Regions from separate parts of the Homo sapiens genome. Here all the other regions are linked to region 2. Evidence: promoter capture Hi-C in 16 types of primary human blood cells and fetal thymus (Javierre and others, 2016). All regions are on one chromosome and are shown on one strand. The core of a region is centred on a gene start or on the middle of the fragment in contact, and the rest is flanking DNA. Distances in the headings are between cores, read along the strand shown. Region 1 overlaps NDFIP2 (Nedd4 family interacting protein 2). Region 2 holds the start of NDFIP2 (Nedd4 family interacting protein 2). Region 3 holds the start of LOC105370274 (a long non-coding RNA gene).

Region 1 (3,576 bases), core at 276-2,775, 47 kb after region 2:
TGAATGAAATAGCAAGGAAGAGAGTAGAGAGGAGGAAGAAGTTGTCTATGCTGAGGAACTACAACATTTAACAGTGAGTAGGGGAATGTTAGCAGGTCAACAAAAGAGAAGCTGGAGAGTTATGAGAAACACTAGGATAGAGTCATCCAAGGACTTTCAGGAGAATGAAGTTAGATAAAGGGTAACACAAGAACCTTGAAGACTAGCAACACAAGTAAAGAAGAACTATTAGGCAGGTAGGAGAGGACTCTGAAAAGAATATTCTAGAAGCCAAGAGAGGAGAGAATTTTAAAAAGAAGTGGCTGGTCAAGAATTTAAAAAGATTATACCTAGCACTTACTGTGTGCTTACTGCATACCTGCCCTTTCTCCCAAGTTCTTAGGTATATAGCTCATCTGATTTTCCAGCCATCCTGAGTAAATCACATCTGTAAAAATGAGGTTCATTTTACAGAGGAGAAAACAATCATGGAGAATTAAATAACTTGCCTGTGTTCACATAGCTTCTCAGTGGTAAAGACAGAATTCGAACTCAGATGTATCTAATTCTAAAGTCCACAGTCATGTTTTATAATTGCGGTGTCCTGTGATTTTGGCTATTTGAAGATCACTGGTGACTTTTGCCATAATGGTTTCTTTGGAGTGTTACAAATAGAAACCTAGCATATAATGGGTTAAAAAGAGCACAGGTAGAGAGGAAGCAAAGACAGCAAGTGACTTTAATAACTAACAAATGGAAGCATCACACATGCTCAAAATAGGGGAATCATTAAATACATTTTCAAATGATAGTATTTTTAAATATTGCATAAACATTAAAATTAGGTTTTTTGAAGGCTGTTTACTGATATCACACACTTTGAAATAGCAAATTTAAAAAGTAGAATATAAAATGACATATATGATGTGATCCCCATTATTTAAGAAATAGATGAACATTTCCACGTAAAGGAAATTCCAAAATATGTTAAAAATAATCACTTAGTCTGGATGGTATAGTAATTGGGTTGTTTTCACTTTCTTTAAAGATGGTCATATGCTGCATAACAACATTTTGGCCAGCAACAGACTGCATGTGTATACAATGGTGCTGAAAAATTTCTGTCATCTAGTGACATGGTAGCTGTCGTAAGGTTGCACTACTCGGTGTTTGTGGCAGTGTTGGTGTAAACATATCCAATACTCTGTCGGTTGTGTACAAGTCTAACACATACAATTATGTACAGTATATAATACTTGATAATGGTAATGACTATATTACTGATTTGTATATTTATTAATCTTAATTATTATTTTAGAGTGTATTCTTTCTACTTATAAAAAACAAATTAACTGTAAAACAGCCTCAGGCAGATCTTTTCAGGAGGTATTCCAGAAGGCATTTGTTATCATAGGAGATGACAGCTCCATGTGTGTTATTGCCCTTGACGACCTTCCAGTGGGACAAATGTGGAGGTGGAAGACAATGATATTGACGATCCTGACCCTTTGTAGGCCTAAGCTAGTGTGCGTGTTTGTGTTGCAGTTTTTAATAAAAAAGCTAGCTATGCACGGTGGCACATGCCTATAATTCCAGTACTTTGGGTGGCTGAGGTGGGAGGATCACAGCCTAGGAGTTTGAGACCAGCCTGGGCAACTTGGCGAAACCCTCATCAACAAAAAATACAAAAATTAGCTGGGTGTGGCAATGCACACCCGTAGTCCCAGCTGCTTGGGAGTCTGAGGTGAGACAATTGATTGAGACTGGGAAGTTGAGGCTGAAGTGAGCTATGTGCCACTGCACTCCAGCCTGGGTGACTGAGTGAGACCTTGTCACACAAAAAAAAGTTTAAAAAATTTAAAAAATAGAAAAAAGATTGTGGAATAAGGATATAAAAAAGAAAATATTTTTGTACACTGTACAATGTGTTTGTGTTTTAAGCTGTGTTCTTATAAAAGAGTCACAAAGTTAAATTTAAAAGTATATAAAGTAAAAATACAGAAAGCTGAGATTTATTATTGAAGGAAGAAAAATATTTTAAAATAAATCTAGGGTAGCCTAGGTGTACAGTGTTTATAAAGTCTACGGTAGTGTACAGTAATGTCCTAGGCCTTCACGTTCACTCGTCACTCACTCACTGACTCACCCAGAGCAACTTCCAGTCTTCTAAGCTCTGTTCATTGTAGGTGCCCTATCCAGGTCGGCCACTTTATAATATTTTAGAACATATTTTTACTGTACTTTTTCTATGTTTAGATGTATTTATATAACACAGATACTTAACATTGTGTTGCAGTTGCCTAGAGTATTCAGTACAGTAATATGCTATACAGGTTTGTAGTCGGTGAGCAATAGGCTATATACCATATAGCCTAGTTATGTAGTAGGCTCTACACTCTAGGTTTATATAAGTACACTCTATGATGTTCCACAAAAACTAAATTGCTTAACACATGTCTCAGAACATATCTGTGTTAGTAAGTGATGCATGACTGTATTTTAAACATGAGCTCTGCTAGATTTTGCAGAGATTATATTCTCCATTAGGTCACTTTTTGGCTAGTTTTTATAGATCTGAGTAACATAAATAATAATACGTGACATTTGTGTAATGCTTCACAGTTTACAGAGTCCTCTTGAATACTCTTCTATTTTATCCCATAATAGCAAGTAACAGCCCTGCTGTGTCAGTTTTATGGATGAGAAAGTGGAGCTTCATAGTGTTTAAGTGATTAGCTTGAGGTCACACAACTTCTAAGAGGAGGATTTGGAGCTGGAGCTTGCCAGACTTTAAATCCTCTGGTTGAGAACCACTCTTTTAAAAGGGTAGATAAAAATAAGTAAAATTTAAAAGTGAAAATTAAAGCTGTAGCAATTGAGTTTTCCTACCCAACTTTCATGTATTAGTGGTAGGGATTTTTTTTTTCTATCTTGAGTATTAAAACCTTTCAGAAATTTACATTCTTGTTATTATAAAAGATCACATCTCCTTGGATAATGTGTGCCATTGTTCCAGTTTTTAAAATTTACAGTTTTAATGTTACTGCCTTAAAATTTGTAAACATTGTTTTTACTTAGATTTTGCTTCTACTCTTTTAAAACTAAAGAAATCTGTTTACTTGACCACTTACGTTTTTACATCCTGATAATAAATCTTTTCTAAGAATTTGACTCTTGTCTCTTGTGTTTGGTAACATTCAGTATTATACTGCTAGTACCAATTCCATGTGATTAGATTAAAAATGACCTAACTTCAGGTCCTTAGCTCTTATTGATAGCACTAAAAATTGTTTTAAGACCTATATGCATGAAAATACAGTAGAAGTATTGCTAGAGTAAAATGTATTTTTAGGTTGAAAATGCAAGAAATTCTGTTAGACAAAATTGTAAACAAATGTAAAAAAATAAACGCATACTTCAGAAATATTGCTGGTTCATTTTCAGACTACTGAAGTAAAGCGAATATCTCAGTGAAAAGAGTCATATGAATTTTTTGGTTTCCCAGTGCATACAAAAGTTATGTTTACGCTATACTCTTAAGGGTGCAGTAGCATTATGTTTAAAAAATGTACATATCTTAATTTAAAACTTTACTGC
Region 2 (3,411 bases), core at 148-2,647:
CATTTTTTAGTTGTCAATCTCTCAAAGAGTTTCTGTTTTTATTCTATCTTGCTATTTTAACCAGTTGATTAGGCTCACCCAGTGGCAGTCTTCATTTCAAGGATCTCCTCTGGACATTCATGAAGGAAATAAATGGGGCTCCAGATCCCTTTCCTTCCCTTCAGGGCGCTCCACTGTAAGATCATTTAGGGAAAATGTGGTGTTATGTTAAAAACATAGCTGGGCCACATCAAGCAGCATCATAGTTTTTAGGGTATAGAACGTTGGTCTTCAGGTTAAAAGGTACTTTTCGCTGCTCTGTCATACTCTTCTACTTGCTAGAGAAATATGCTTTATGCCGTGTCATGTGTGGTTAACCAGACAGTGAGATACTACTAACAGTGCTCCCAAGTGATTCCTTGCTGTTAAATCAATTGGAATTATTGAGTATTACCACAAAATAATCCTATCTGATTTCATTACTTTCTTCTAACGTCCTTCCAGTAACCTAGAACTCTAGAGACCTCTTTCTTTGAGAGTTGTCTGGAGAGTCCGTTGGATTTTTAAATCTCTTATTACCAAAAAGTGGAAAAAAGAGTTTAAAAAGTAACCAAAGAGCTAGTGCCTGTAGTCTCAGCTACTCCAGAGGCTGAGGCAGGTGGATAGCTTGGGCCGAGGAGTTCGAGGCTACAGTGAGCCATGACTGCGCCTGCTAACAGCCACTGCACTCCAGTCTGGGCAATATAGTGAGACCCCATCTCTAAAAAAACAACAAACAAAAACAAAAATTACCCCACAGAAGAATTTCAGGGCAGTGGAAATACTCTGTAGGATACTATAATGATGGATACCTGCCATTACACATTTGTTCTAACTCGAGGAGTATACAACAACCTGAGTGAACCCTGAGGTAACTATGGACTTTGAGTGATGATGAGGTGTCAATGCAGGTTCATCAGTCGTAACACATGTACCACTCTGAGGGGGGATGTTGATAATGGTGGGGGGTTATGCATGCGTAGGAGCCAAGTGTATATGGGATATCTCTGTAACTTCTCAATTTTTCTGTAAACTCTAACTACTCTATATTAGTCTTTAAAAAATCGCTTATCTTACGAATGATTTTGAATAAGCGTTTTGGGAATGTTCTAGAGATGAATCTCCTCCCCATGTCCTACGCTGGGTGAGGAAGTGTCGGGTACCCGGGCGACCTGTCCTCAGGTGTTCTAGGAACGCGGCCCCATCCCTTGTCAGCCTCTGTCTCTGTGTGGTGAGAAGGCGCACTGGCTCGTGCCTGCGCGAAACTCGCGCACACAGAAAAGACCAATCAAGGACGGGTCATTCCCGCCCCCCGCGCGCCTTTTGCGACCGCCCACTCGACAGGTTGACAACCTAGACAGCTCCCCCGGACTTGCCTTACTTTTCCATCTCCTCCCACCCAGCTATACCCTCCCACTGGCGGCGCGGATGGCACGCCGGCGGAGCCAGCGAGTCTGCGCGAGCGGTCCGAGCATGCTCAATAGCGCGCGCGGCGCCCCGGAGCTTCTCCGCGGAACCGCGACCAACGCGGAGGTCTCGGCGGCCGCTGCGGGAGCCACAGGAAGTGAAGAGCTTCCGCCGGGAGACCGCGGCTGCAGGAACGGAGGCGGAAGGGGCCCTGCGGCGACGACGTCGTCGACGGGGGTGGCCGTGGGAGCTGAGCACGGAGAAGACTCCCTCTCTCGGAAGCCGGATCCCGAGCCGGGCAGGATGGATCACCACCAGCCGGGGACTGGGCGCTACCAGGTGGTGAGTTCCCGGCCTCCTGTGCCTCCCGGGACTGCCTCCCGCCGCGGCGTCCCGAGAGTCCCTTTCCTCAGGTTATTCCCGGAGGAAAAGCTGTGGCTTTTTTTTGTTGTGTTTTGTTTTGTTTTTTTGGATCTTCTGGCTGGAGCTGCTTCACTCGCCTCACCTGCGCACTCCTGCCTAGGACTCCTTCGAAACCCTTCTCTCTCGCCCCAAGTCTGCTTAGCTCCTCACCCGCACCCTTAGCCCCGCTGTGAGACGCCCTCCCTCCACACACCTTACAACTTGTATCCGTTTTAATTTCTCACTTTATCATTTTCTTATTCTCTGACTCAGTCACTCCTGAGACATTCTAGTCGATTGTCTACTGGAAATGGGGCTGACTTCACATACCTGCCCGGAAGGTGATCGCCGTCATAAATGGGGTGGGTGAGTAGGTGGGTGGAGGTGTAAGTACTGCGTGGGGTGGGATGTGGATTTGGCAAAAATGTGGGTTAGGAATTGTGGAACTGTAGAGAAAGACTAGCCATAATGCTGATCTTGTCTCTCTGCTCGTTAACCTTGTCATTTTGTCCTTTTCCATTATGTTAGTATTAAAAATGACTGTATTTTTTGGTAATCCCCACTTTTTCTTTCTTTCTTTCTTTCTTTTTTTTTTTTTTTTTTTTTTTTTTGGTTAGAGGGGAAACAGAGGTAGTTTTAGTAGAACAAATTCTAATCTTGTTTGAAAAATTATTTTTCGTTAAATACAAGGTTTTCCAGCTTAACTGTGTAAACTTTGGTAACTATGTTGAAAAAAGTGAAATGTGTTCCTCTATATTTTCAGTGTCAATTTTTAAATATATTTTTCTTTGTGTATTCTGGTGGTGACGTTGGAGATTCCTGTTGTAAACCTTAGTTAAAGATGGACTGAGCAATAGTTGACTCTGCTGTTGTGCTGTTGCAGCTAGGTAGCATGTCATTCTACAAACTTTCAGCCCATTTACTGAGGGAGAGGAGAAAAACAATACATAGCACTGGTGATGCAGTTTATGGTTTATAAAATTTTACAAATTTAGGTATGTTAGTCCCAGGTTTCAACTTTCAAATCTATTTGCACATGTAAGACAGGTTATAAGCCAAGACTTTCTATTAATAAGTACATTTTGGCAAATATGAAGGAACTGTAAGATGAGATCCTAAAGTATGTAATTTTGCATTTTTCTAAGATAAAAGCTCATGAGGCTTCCATTTTCAATTGGTTTGCATTCCTTAAAACCTACAAAAGGTCCATATTCCGAATTCTTTGAAAATTTATCAGCTTTTCTCAACAACTTGGGAAATACTGTTTCTCCCAGTATGGAAAGCGTTTTTCAAGTTGTCAGTGTACACCCTTTTGATGGTTTGAAAGGCATTTCTAGGTTTGTAAATGTTAGCAAAAATAAAATGATATAAATATTGAATAATATCAGCAGTGAAACTTGTTTCATTTTTCCTACAGACGTCACTACCCAAAACACTGTTAATTTATGTAGCTCTCAGTTTTAAGATATTTGTTTTCCCAACAACTCCTTTCAAAATAAATGGGCATATTTTATTGCTGCCCCCTCCCCTCGTTTTTTTCAAACTGACGATGTGTCCTACATAGACTTTGAATGTTCCTTGAGA
Region 3 (3,593 bases), core at 1,058-3,557, 51 kb before region 2:
TGATTATCTTAGCTAGTTTACTTAACCGATTTTTCAAATTATTCTATAATTGTATTCTTCGGCTCTACTTTTTCTTTTAGCTTTCTAACTCACCAATTTTTGTTTTTATCTGTGTTAATTCCTTTCTTCTGCTTTCCTTTGCTTATTTTGTAATTCCTTGTCAATCCTTTGAGTAAAATGCTTGATTTACTTATTTTCATTTTTATTTCTATAACCATTAATGCTAGACATTTTTGTTCTCAGAATTGATGGGAAAATTGTTTTAAAATCCTAGTTAAGCTTGCAACAAAGTACTATCCCACTAGTAACAGAAATGAAAAAGAAAATTCAAATCAGAGTCATAAGGGCATGAGCTGAGGCTTCTGGCAGCCATGGTAGAAAGGAGGGAATATCTCATAAATCGAAACCTCAAGCCTTTACTTATGTAGGTTTTTAGTCTTTATTTATATTATCTGTGTATGTGTGTTATGAAAACTCATTCCAAAAAACTGGACTAAAACTAGGTTGGTGATATATCTGGCCTGGATACTTCCAACACTTCAAAATCAGGACACAATGGAATTCCAACAGAGAGAATGTGATCCAACCAGGATCACCTCCTAGTTTAAAAAATTACCTTGCTATAAATACAATAGACATTTAAAACAGCATAAAAAGAATCTTACCTCATGCCAAGATATTCAAAAATTTAGGTGAAAAGGACAATTTCCTAGAAAAAATAAGGAAAAATTAGAATTCTGAATAGAACTAGAACTGACTAAAAGATTGAATCCATAATTAGAAATCTATCCACCAACTTACTCTCTGTGACACAAATGCAATGTATCCAATATCCACTTTACCCTCGATAAAATACCATCCTTCCATGGTAATGGAATGTTTAGCTGAGCACATTACACTTAATAAGTGTGACAAAAGAGTGAATAAGGCACTATGATATGTAGAAGTGTTATGATTATAGTTTTGTTGTCATTAACATGAGTTCCTTATTTGTTTATATTATGTCTTGATAAAATTTACATATAGTGACATGCACATTTCTTAAGTGTACTATTCCATGAGTTTGAACAAATGACTAACCTGAGACAGAAAATACAAAAAAATACCATCACCACAAAAGTTGCCTCATGTTCCCTTCACAGTGAATGCCCACCCCTCCACCCATAGACAACCACTGTTCTAAAATAGAATCTGTAAATAGAATCATACAGTATGTACTGTTTTGCATAAGCTTTCTTTCACTCAGCATTGTTTTAGAGATTCATCCATGTTGTATATATCTGTATTGCATTCATTTTTATTTTTGAGTAGTTTCCATTGCATGAATATACCAACATTTTATCCATGCTCTTGTAGATACTGTTTTGCTTTAAGAATTAAGAATAAAGCTGCTACAAGCATTCTTGTACATATCTATTTATACATATACATTTTTATTTCTTTGGTGTAAGGTTTAGTTTATATTTATTTGAAAATATGTGTATTTCTTATTTTTGAAGGATCTTTTCCATGGATATAAGCTTTATAGTACTTTTCTTCCAGCCTTTCAAAAGTGTTGTGCCACTGTCTTTTTGGTCTCCACTGTTTCTGAAGAAAAGTTGGCAGTCACTCATATCATGATTCTCCTATATGTGATGTGTCATTTTACTCTGGCCACATTCAAGATTTTCTTTTTCTCTTTGATTTGCAGCAATTTGATTATGATATTATTTTCTTCATATTTTTCTAGTTGAGGTTGTCTGAGTTCTTGATTTTGTACATTTATGTTTTTTAACAAATTATTAAGTCAAATATTTTTTCAGGTTCATTCCCACTTGCTTCTCTTTCTAGAAATCTAATTTACATATATTAGATTTTTTTCAATTGTCTCACAGTACCCTGAGGGTTTTTTTTTTTTCAGTTTAATTTACAGCTTTCTTTCTCTCTGTTTCTCCGAGTAGATAATTTTGATTGCTGTATCCTCAAGTTGAGTGACTTTCATCATCTTTAAACTGCTGTTAAGCCCACACAGTATTTTTTAAATATCAAATATTTTTTTTTAGTTTTTTCTCTGATATTTCCTATTTGTTCAATCATTATGAGCATATTTTCTCTCACATCCTTGAGCACAGCATAACAGCTGCTTTAAAATCCTCTGCTAATCCCAACATCATGAGGTTAGTCTTCATTGATTGTCTTTTCTTGTAAGTATGGCCCATATGTAGTAATTTTCTAAGTGTTCTTGTAAAAATCATATTGTAGAGACTTTGGATTCTATCATATTTCTTGGAAGATTATAAAATTTTTAAATTAATAAACTTTATTTATTAGAGCAGTTTTAGGTTCACAGCAGAATTGATCAGAAAGTTGAGAGACTTCCCATATACTCCTGTCCCCACACACATAATCTCCCCAACTATGGACATTTCACACCACATTAGAACATTTGTTACAATTGAGCTTACACCGACACATTGTTATCACCCAAAATGCATAGTTTACACTAGAACTCACTCTTGGTGTTGTACATTCTATGGATTTTGACAAATATATAATGACATTTATTCAGCATTGTAGTATCATACAGAATAGTTTCACTGCCCTAAAAATCCTCTGTGTTCTGTCAATTCATCCCTCCCTCTCCACAACTTTTGGCAACCATTGATCTTTTTTGGTGTCTTTAATTTTGTCATTCCCAGAGTGTCATATATTTGGAATCATACAGTATGTGTAGCCTTTTCAGATTGGCTTTTCTCACTTAGTAATATGCATTTAAGGTTTCTCTATGTCTTTTGATGACTTGATAGCTAATTTCTTTCTAGTGTTGTATCTCATCTGTTGCCACTTTTTTTCCTTTAAGTGTTATATCCAACTTCTGCCTGATTTTAGTTACTCTCCAGTTCATTTAGGTAGTTGTTTTTAAAGTAATTTTAAAAATCAGAATGTATGTTGAATGGTTATTAGATGTCAGTACAGATAATTGGGCTTAGTGAAAAAGATTTAGATACAGGAAGCCCCAAGTAACTGACTAAATGATGATGGCCTAAAATGGGACAGTAATAGTAAACATAAACAGAAGGTAAAAAGTTGAGGATCTCTACAAGCTCATATTGGCAAAGCTTTGTGATTCTAAACTGCCACACATTGACCTATCTAAATTGTTTGTCATAGTATGGAAAAGATGAGATTAAAAAGTTGAGGTAGTAGTGGCCAGCATTATTGATTGCTTCTCACCTAAAATTCATAAATGAGGAAAAATAAAGAGAAATATCTATCATTTTAAGCAAAGATATTCTTATATAATTTCTCCTTATATTACATCCACACGAAATAAACCAAAGTATTTCAGGAAGGACCATTGATGTCTGATTGCAGAGATGTATCATATTATCTAGAAATGTTGTCAGCTCCTAGAAATAGAGACCTAACTACAATGACTTAAATGTCTAAGAGTATATTATTTTACAGAAAAAATGTTCAGAAATGGGTGATCCACACTGATAAGGAGTTCCACAAAGACAACAGGAATCTAGGCCTAGGCCTTTCTTAATACATGTCTTTCATCCTCAAGGTTATAAGATGGCCACTGGAATTGCAACTGATGACAGTGGTGG

Evidence for each region. Contacts are between HindIII fragments. The CHiCAGO score rates a contact against its expected background, and 5 or more counts as called.
Region 1: a fragment that was not itself captured here is called in contact with the fragment with the promoter of NDFIP2 in region 2 in 1 of 17 cell types (activated CD4 T cells); the score reaches 11.4 in activated CD4 T cells.
Region 3: a fragment that was not itself captured here is called in contact with the fragment with the promoter of NDFIP2 in region 2 in 1 of 17 cell types (activated CD4 T cells); the score reaches 13.6 in activated CD4 T cells.

Annotation. Positions count from the first base shown.
Region 1 is chr13:79,526,441-79,530,016 of GRCh38, forward strand. The region is part of intron 2 of NDFIP2 (Nedd4 family interacting protein 2); the gene reads left to right. Among named protein-coding and RNA genes, the nearest start is that of LINC01068, 38 kb to the right of the region's middle. The HindIII fragment of the contact is 5,984 bases long and covers 1-3,576 here.
Region 2 is chr13:79,479,758-79,483,168 of GRCh38, forward strand. It overlaps NDFIP2 (Nedd4 family interacting protein 2), which reads left to right and starts at 1,398. Exons shown (of 8, transcript NM_019080.3): 1 at 1,398-1,767. The coding sequence starts at 1,447. It overlaps NDFIP2-AS1 (NDFIP2 antisense RNA 1), which reads right to left and starts at 1,474. Exons shown (of 3, transcript NR_046685.1): 1 at 1,395-1,474; 2 at 79-173. The HindIII fragment of the contact is 10,753 bases long and covers 1-3,411 here.
Region 3 is chr13:79,428,315-79,431,907 of GRCh38, forward strand. LOC105370274 (a long non-coding RNA gene) reads right to left here and starts at 1,024. Exons shown (of 4, transcript XR_942112.2): 1 at 802-1,024; 2 at 666-709. The HindIII fragment of the contact is 1,578 bases long and covers 1,519-3,096 here.